Linked DNA regions of Homo sapiens: region 2 is linked to region 1. The links are contacts of gene promoters, found by promoter capture Hi-C in blood cells and fetal thymus (Javierre and others, 2016). All regions are on one chromosome and are shown on one strand. Each heading gives the region's core, a stretch centred on a gene start or on the middle of the fragment in contact. The rest is flanking DNA. Distances are from core to core; before and after follow the strand shown. Region 1 holds the start of LIAT1 (ligand of ATE1). Region 2 overlaps NXN (nucleoredoxin).

Region 1 (4,538 bases), core at 1,602-4,101:
CTCTTCAGGCTCTGACTCTGATGTTTATCTGCTGAGTAGATGAGCAGGTTAGTGTTTGTGGCAATGTCTGACCTTGGCCTGCTGGGGATGGTGCCAAAATCACCCAAGATGGAAGAGGAGGATGGGGGCCCCTCCGTACCCAGGGCTCAGGCTGCCAAGCCCACCAGCCTCGTGCCCACCTGCCTGTGTGATTTTGCTGAAATCATTTCAGGGCAGGAGGAACCATTCATTGAGCACACAGTCTGAGCCAGGCCGTCTGGGTAAAGGCGATCGGCCCTATTCTTCGGGTGAGGAAACCGAAGCTCCAAAAGGTTCAGGAACTTGCCAATGTCATGAGCGAGTGGCAGAGCTGGGACCTGAGTGCAGGCTGGGCCCCCAATGCCCCATTCTTTCCACTGGGCCGTGCTGCCCTCATCCATCCTCGCCATGTGCTCACCACGGCCATTCCCAGTTCTGGGAGTCTGTGACTCTACCCTAGTCTAGACACTTTATGATGGAAGGAACGGAAAACAACAGAAAAGCTTCCTAAATTTGACTGAAAGCAGTATTATGCCAAGCCAGAAATACTTCTGCTGTATGGCTTGTACTGATTTTTTTTTTTAACATCAATAGCACTTCAGAATTATTTAACATGCACATAAAATGCTACAAATTGTGGTTCTTTCATCAGCTCGTCCTTTTATTTTAGGGGAGAGAGAAAGAAATCATCTTTTGACATTTCCCTCCCTTGCTACGCCCTGGAAACTATCTGGTGCCCCCTGCTGATGGTATGAGGCACATGTCACTGTAATTTCTACAGTGAAAAGCTACGCCAAAAGGACAATGAACTGCCAAATTTCTTTTTGCAGATACACACAGGGCTTTTTTTTTTTTTGAGACTGAGTCTCACTCTGCCACCCAGGCTGGAGCACAGTGGCACAATCTTGGCTCACTGCAACCTCCGCCTCTCAGGTTCAAGCAATTCTAGGTGCCTGCCACCATGCCCAGCTAATTTTTGTATTTTCAGTAGAGACGGGGTTTCACCATGTTGGCCAGGCTGGTCTTGAATTCCCAAAGTGCTGGGATTACAGGCGTGAGCCATGTGCCCAGCCACACAGGGCTTCTTGACCTGAACTGCAGAATTTTCTTGCCTTTGTATTACGCCTGAGAAGTACTTATCATCTTCCCATTGCTCCCTTCCCACACTGCACGGTCCATATGGGCGAGGCTGCCACTCTGCCTCCTGCTTGCCTTGGTGCCAGCTCTGCCACAGAGGGCCAGGCCCCAGAACTGGAGCTTAGAGCCCTCTCCCAGACAGCCAAAGCCACTGAGGTGGACCACACGGGCGACAGTGGCCTCACAGCACTCACGGGCACCTGCATTCTCTGTCACTGCTGTGCTCTCTCTCCTCAAAGTGGGTGCTCAGTCCCCTTGTCAAGAAATGTAGGGGTTCTACAAGAAGAGCTTGGTGAGATGTAGGGACTGGGGTTTATGGCAGGTAGGGTATGTGTGTTTGTGAAGGTGTCCCTGAGAGAGACTGCAATTCCTGCCTGCATATGACTACACACGCGAATGGATAACGTATTAACAGTCTGTGTGTGTAGACTAGGAATGTGTGTGCATGAGGGGGATCTGTGCTTTAGTTTTCTTGTTTGTTTTTTTGAGAGACAGGGTCTTGCTTGTTGCCCAGGCTGGAGTGCAATGGTGCGATCATAGCTCACTGCAGCCTGGAAGTCCTGGGTTCAAGTGATCCTCCCACCTCGGCCTCCCAAAGTGCTCGGATTACAGGTGTGAGCCACTGCGTCCCGCCCTTTAGTTTCACTGTTGGTGTTACATTGATAGAAGGTGGGGGGAGTGGTTGAGGGTGTCCCCCGCCCTTTAGTTTCACTGTGGGTGTTACACTGATATGAAGCGGGGAGTGGTTGAGGGTGTCAGGGATTATAGGAGGATGTCACAGTGACTGGTGTCATGGGGTTTGTGCAGTCCAAGGCTGCCCCTTGGTGGGTGCGAGGGGGAGCCCATGCAGCGAGGACCTTTAATACACACGTCTGTGGGTGTGGGTGTCTACCGCGCATCCACAGGCAGGCAGCCTTAACGCAAGAGGGTGGGAGGAGGGGAGGCAGGAGTCTGCCCTTCTCTGTGCATGAGAGTGAGGGCCTTTCATGTGGCATCAATGTGTTTGGGGTGGGGAAAGTGTCTTGTGAGGAGGGCCTCTGTGGGGAAGGCGCAGACGTTTAAGACTGCCAGTTTTGGCTGAGGGATTAGGAAGTTGAGAGGGTGTCTTTGTGTGGGGCTGGAAGGCTCTTAGGAATGGTGGATATCTGTAGGGGTCTCTGTGTGGGGCTAAGGGACCGCAGAGTTGGTGGATGGTCTCCACGGGTGGGGCTGGGGCATCAACGTGCTGCTGACGGGCATGTGTGGGGAGCAGGAGGACCTCGGTCCGGGACCACTGAGCTTCTGTTTCCGGTCTGAAGGGTAAATGGGGGGTGGGTCCCCAAAGAGTCTCCAGGGAACCGGAGCTGACGCAGCCGGGCTAGCTGCTCCTCTTACCGTCCCCCTTGCCAGACCCCTTGGTCTTCTTCTTCCTTTTTTTCTTCTTCACCTTCCGTTTGGCCAGCTCGGAGGCGCCGCCTGTGATGGGGGGCAGTCTAGACCCCCGCGGGCCCGCGGCGCCGCCCTCCCGCTCCTCCTCCTCGCCGTCGTTGTCCTTGTACCCCATTGTCCCCGCCCCACCGCGGCGGTCCAGCCGCCCGCTGGGCTGCAACCCAACCCGCCCCGGGGGCGCCCGAGGCCCGATGCCGACTAATCGGCGACTCTCAGCGCGGACCGCCAGGCCAGGGCCACGCGTCTCCATGGCGACCACCCCTGCTGCGCCTGCGCAGTCAGGACGCTTCCGCCCGGTGCCCCACGGACCGCGGTGTGCGCATGCGTGCTTCCGTCTTTTGGCGACCTTGGCACACAGCGGTGTGCGCATGTGTGCTTCTGTCGGGGATCTCGAGAACAGAGCGTTGTGCGCATGCGTACATCTGTCGGAGTGCTAGGTACGCAGCGGTGCGCGCATGCGTGCTTCCATCTGTTGGCGATACCGGCACAGCGATGTGCGCATGCGTGCTTCTGTCTGCGGAGACCTCCGCGCATAGAAGTGTGCGCATGCGTGCGTCTGTCGGAAACCTCCGCACACAGAGGTGTGCGCATGCGTGCTTCTGTCGGGGACCGCGGCGCACGGTGGTTCGCCCATGCTTGCTTTTGTCTGTTGGAATCTGGACAGTTGACCGCAGGAAGGGGAGGGTGGGCAGAGAGATTTTAAATCCCTGGGCTGACACTCATCTCGTCCAGTCCCGTGCCTCGATCCTCCTGCCTTGGCCTCCCATCCCCACGCCTGGCTAAGAGTTTTGATTTTTGGTTTCAGGCTGGTCTCGAACTCCTGGGCTCCATCGATCTTCCCGCCTCGGCCTCCTAGATCGCTGGGATCACAGGCATGAGCCTCCGTGCTCGGCCTCCTGTACCTTTTTAAATGCTGTGTATTCTCCCCTCAATTTTTATTGCCTGAGTTTCAGCCTCGTACATCTACCCTGGACTCTCAAAGCCAATGTGTCCAAAACAAACTTACTTCTTCATGGTTTTCCACTTTAGTGAACAAAACCGCTGGACTGGCTGGAAACCTGGTGGGCTTCCGTGTCCCCTACCCTCTCCCTTGTCCCTTACCCAGGCTGGGGCCGACTGCCGTGTCTGGCACTGGGACTTCTGGGTCCTCTCCTGAATGGTCTCTGCTTTCAAACCTTCCCCACGAACTCTTTTTCCGCACAGCTGCTAGAACAAACTTTTAAAAACAACCAAACCGTTCACTCTCTTGCTAAAAGTCTCCAGTGATGAAAAACAAAACATAAAAAGCCAAAAAGTCCTCCATTGCTTCCTCATCACAATTTACATCAAGATCTAAACTCTTGTGGGGCTCTGTGCAGGGCTGACACCCGTAGTCCCAACACTTTGGGAGGTCAAGGTGGGTGGATCGCTTGAGCCCATTCTGGGCAACGTAGTGAGACCCCATCTCTACAAAAAATTAACCAGCTGCGCTGAGGGGCACTTGTGGAGGAACTTGAGCCTGCAGTGAGCCGAGATCGCACCACTGCTGTCCAGCCTGGGTAACAAAGCAAGACTTTCTCTCTCTTTTTTTTTTTTTGGGAGACAGAGCCTTCCTCTGTTGCCCAGGCTGGAATGCAGTGGCGTGAACGTGACTCACTGCAACCTCTGCCTCTCAGGTTCAAGTGATTCTTCTGCCTCAGCCTCCCTAGTAGCTAGGACTACAGGTGCGTGCCACCACGCCTGGCTGATTTTTTATTTTTTATTTTTTGTATTTTTAGTAGAGACGGGGTGTCACCATATTGGCCAGGCTGGTCTCGAACACCTGACCTTGTGATCCGCCTACCTCGGCCTCCCAAAGTGCTGGGACTACAGGCTTGAGCCACCACGCCCGGCCTCTGTGTCTTAAAAAAAAAAATAACAAAGTGTGGCTTACAAGGCCTGGTATGATGCATCACCTGCTTTTCTTTCTAGGTTTA
Region 2 (4,187 bases), core at 533-3,032, 560 kb before region 1:
TTTTAGTAATAAAGGACAACAGTCCAGTTAGGAGCAGGCCGGGTGTGATGGCTCACACCTGTAATTCAGCACTTTGGGAGGCCAAGGTGGGGGGATCACTTGAGCCTAGGAGTTTGAGACCAGCCTGGGCAACATGGTGAAACATTGTCTTTGCAAAAAATAACAATTAGCTGGTCACAGTGGTGGGTACCTGTGGTCCCAGCTACTCGGGAGGCTGAGGCAGGAGGATTGCTTAAACCCAGGAGGTGGAGGCTGCAGTGAGCCATGTTTGTGTCACTACACTCCAGCCAGGACAACACAGCAAGACCCTGTATTAAATAAATAAATAAATAAATAAATAAATAAAAATAAAGTAATAAGAGCAATGTTCCTTGAGAGGCTTTTTCTTGTTCCATCATTTGTAATATATTTTTTAATCTCTTTGTTTTTTCTCTGCATAATAAGGCAGTCTAATACATGGCTAAAAATATAGAGTCTTTTGTCCTTCTGCTTGAGTTCACGCCCCCGCTCTGCCGTTTATTAGCTGTGTGTCCTTGTGCAAGGCGCTGTACATCTCTGTACCACACGTTCCTTTTCCATTTGTGATAACAGCACCTGCCTTATTGTGTAAAGGCTACGCGAGATAATATACACGTGCCTGGCATGTGGTGAGTGCTCAATAAATGCTATTATTGTGTTTAGATAAATGATCATTAAGTTTAGTCATTCATTTCATAGCTTGAGCCTTGGGAATCTATCACATTACTGAACTGTAAAACGGTTATGAGGTATATCCATATATCTATATATATATATCTATATACTTTTTTGAGATGGAGTCTCGCTCTGTCACCCAGGCTGGAGTGCAGTGGTGCGATCTCGGCTCACTGCAAGCTCCGCCTCCCGGGTTCACGCCATGCTCCTGCCTCAGCCTCCTGAGTAGCTGGGACTACAGGCGCCCACCACCACGCCTGGCTAATTTTTTTTGTATTTTTAGTAGAGACGGGGTTTCACTGTGTTAGCCAGGATGGTCTCGATCTCCCGACCTCGTGATCCGCCCAGCTCAGCCTCCCAAAGTGCTGGGATTACAGGCATGAGCCACCGCGCCCGGCATGAGGTATATTTTTAAACTTTTCAAACCAATGACTTTTACAAGCATACAAGGGGATTTGATGAAGGTGTCAAAAAAATTGCCCTACAATGGCCGGGCACTGTGGCTCACGCCTGTCATCCCAGCACTTTGGGAGGCCGAGGTGGGTGGGTCACTTGAGGTCAGGAGTTCAAGACCAGCCTGGCCAACATGGTGAAACCCCATCTCTACTAAAAATACAAAATTAACCAGGTGTGGTGGTACACACCTGTACTCCCAGCTACTCGGGAGGCTGAGGCAGGAGAATCGCTTGAACCCGAGAGGTGGAGTTGGCAGTGAGCTGAGATCGGGCCACGGCACTCCAGCCTGGGTGACAGAGCAAGACTCCGTCTTGGAAAAAAAAAATTAAATAAAAAAAATTGCCCCATAAGAGATTATAACTGCGAAGAAAGACCTAGAAGAATGAAACAACAAATACAGTGCCTTAAAGTCCCGGGATATTACTGATACTTACTGAGCTCTGTATTTCTATCTGCCAATGACGCTCCAGACTGCTGCTGATCGACGAAGCCTGGGAAAGATTTAAGTTACTATTAAGTTACCCTTTCAGTCACCCTTGTAACTTAAAGATGATCAGGCACTCTTCTTGAGAGAAATTACGCACAAAGCAATCATTTTGTGGTTTCCCAAAGCTATTAGGTGTGTCTTCCGCTGACCCTGTTTGCTTAACTCTGGGCGGTGTAGAGGTTGAAAGACTGCTGTTTCGCGTGGGAAATGGAGGGTGCTCATCTCTGGAGCTGTAGAAACGCCACCTCTAGCGTGGACCTGCCTCCCGTCCCAGCTCTGGAATGCTGCGGGATGGGTTTGCTCAGACATGTAGGCATTGCTGGTTTGGTACTCATCTCCCAGTTAGCAGCTCAGGCCTGCCTCTGAGTAGCCGTCCACAGCTCTTGCTGATCGATTTGTCTTCTGACACGGGTTGGAATGTGAGCTAGAGCACAGAGGCAAGCCCTGGAAGTTAGGGTCACTGATTTGATTCTACCTTTTTTTTTTTTTTTTTGAGACGCAGTCTCGCTCTGTCGCCCAGGCTGGAGTGCAGTGGAGCGATCTGGGCTCACCGCAATCTCCGCCTCCCGGGTTCCTGCCATTCTCCTGCCTCAGCCTCCCGAGTAGCTGGGACTACAGGGGCCCGTCACCACCCCTGGCTAATTTTTTGTATTATTAGTAGAGACGGGGTTTCACCGTGTTAGCCATGATGGTCTCGATCTCCTGACCTCGTGATCCACCCGCGTCAGCCTCCCAAAGTGCTGGGATTACAGGCGTGAGCCACCGCACCCGGCCCTGATTCTACGTTTTAAAATATTCCTACCTTTTGTTGGGAAGGTGTTGTAATGTGCACACACATTTGAGAAAACAGGCTTTGTGCACAGCTGGGGTCGGGGTTGAACAAACCCCTTGGGGATCTTCCTTTTTCCTGACAGTGATCAGGGTTCCAGGGCTCCAGCTCGTCCCGTTGTGAACTAGGTGGGATCCTTCCTGCATGATTTCATTTTGGCCAGGAGAGCACAGGCTTGGCATAGGATGTGTTTTCTTTCCTTTTTTTCTTTTTCTTTTTTTTCAGATGGAGTCTCGCTCTGCCAGGCTGGAGAGCAGTGGCGCGATCTCGGCTCACTGCAACCTCCGCCTCCTGGGTTCAAGCGATTCTCCTGCCTCAGCCTCCCGAGTAGCTGGGATTACAGGCGCCAGCCACCACGCCTGGCTAAGTTTTGTATTTTTTAAATTTTTTTTGAGATGGAGTTTTGTTCTTGTTGCCCAGGCTGGAGTGCAATGACACCATCTCAGCTCACCGTGACCTCTGCCTTCTGGGTTCAAGCAATTCTTCTGCTTCAGCCTCCCGAGTAGCTGGGATTATAGGCGCATGTGCCACCACGCCCGGCTAATTTTGTATTTTTAGTAGAGATGGGGTTTCACCATGTTGGTCTGGCTGGTCTCCAACTCCCAACCTTAGGTGGTCCGCCTGCCTTGGCCTCCCAAAGTGCTGGGCTTACGGGTGTGAGCCACCGTGACTGGCCAATTTTTATATTTTTAATAGAGACAGGGTTTCACCATGTTGGCCAGGCTGGTCTTGAACTCCTGACCTCAGGTGATCCACCCGCCTCGGCTTCCAAAGTGCTGGGATCACAGCGTGAGCTGCGGCGCCCGGCCAGGATGTGTTTTCTTTCTTCATGATCTGAATTCCCAGTGGTGCATGGTGTGAACCACCAAGGTGCTTAGTTTTCTGTGTTGCATTGAATTTACCGTTTATGCGTATTCCAAGACAATCAAGGAAAATCGCTATGAATTTGGAATCTTTGTGAATCCTGACTTTCTTTTTTTTTTTTGAGATGGAGTCTCGCTCTGTCACCCAGGCTGGAGTGCAGTGGCGCGATCTCGGCTGACTGCCAGCTCCGCCTTCCCGGTTCACGCCATTCTCCTGCCGCAGCCTCCCGAGGAGCTGGGACCACAGGTGCCCGCCCTCACGCCCGGCTAATTTTTTGTGTTTTTAGTAGAGACGGGGTTTCACCGTGTTAGCCAGGATGGTCTTGAACTCCTGACCTCATGATCCACCTGCCTCGGCCTCCCAAAGTGCTGGGATGACAGGCGTGAGCCACCGCGCTCGGTCTGTTTTTGTTTCTCAATGAGTGTTTTAAAGAGGACTAAATGAGCAAATGGATGTCACAGCTGGGTGAGTCCCAGCAGCTTCTTGTGCAACTGGATTGCCGTGTGATTCTGTGCTCAAAAATAGGAAAAAGCTTGACTCTCCATTTTTGAAATGTCAAATATCTGAGTCTATTAAAAGAGACTCGGCCACGCGCGGTGGCTCACGCCTGTAATCCCAGCACTGTGGGAAGCCGAGGTGGGCGGATCACCTGAGGTTGGGAGTTCTAGACCAACCTGACCAATGTGGAGAAACCCTGTCTCTACTTAAAATACAAAATTAGCCGGGTGTGGTGGTGCATGCCTGTAATCCGAGCTACTGAGGAGGCTGAGGCAGGAGAATCACTTGAACCCTGGAGGCGGAGGTTGCATTGAGCCGAGATCGCACCACTGTACTCCAGCCTGGGGAATAAGAGTGAAA

Evidence for each region. The method cuts DNA at HindIII sites, captures the fragments that hold promoters and counts their contacts. A CHiCAGO score of 5 or more calls a contact.
Region 2: a contact is called between a fragment that was not itself captured here and the fragment with the promoter of LIAT1 in region 1, in 2 of 17 cell types (M0 macrophages and total B cells). The highest score is 8.3, in M0 macrophages.

The regions. Positions count from the first base shown.
Region 1 is chr17:408,638-413,175 of GRCh38, reverse strand. LIAT1 (ligand of ATE1) reads right to left here and starts at 2,851. Exons shown (of 2, transcript NM_001013672.5): 1 at 2,530-2,851; 2 at 1-28. The coding sequence starts at 2,833. LOC105371430 (a long non-coding RNA gene) reads left to right here. Exons shown (of 3, transcript NR_136407.1): 2 at 1-47. RefSeq lists a silencer at 2,710-2,799. The HindIII fragment of the contact is 6,027 bases long and covers 524-4,538 here.
Region 2 is chr17:970,973-975,159 of GRCh38, reverse strand. All of the region lies in intron 1 of NXN (nucleoredoxin), which reads left to right. Among named protein-coding and RNA genes, the nearest start is that of NXN, 6.7 kb to the left of the region's middle. RefSeq lists enhancers at 1,728-2,227, 2,228-2,729. The HindIII fragment of the contact is 4,162 bases long and covers 1-3,863 here.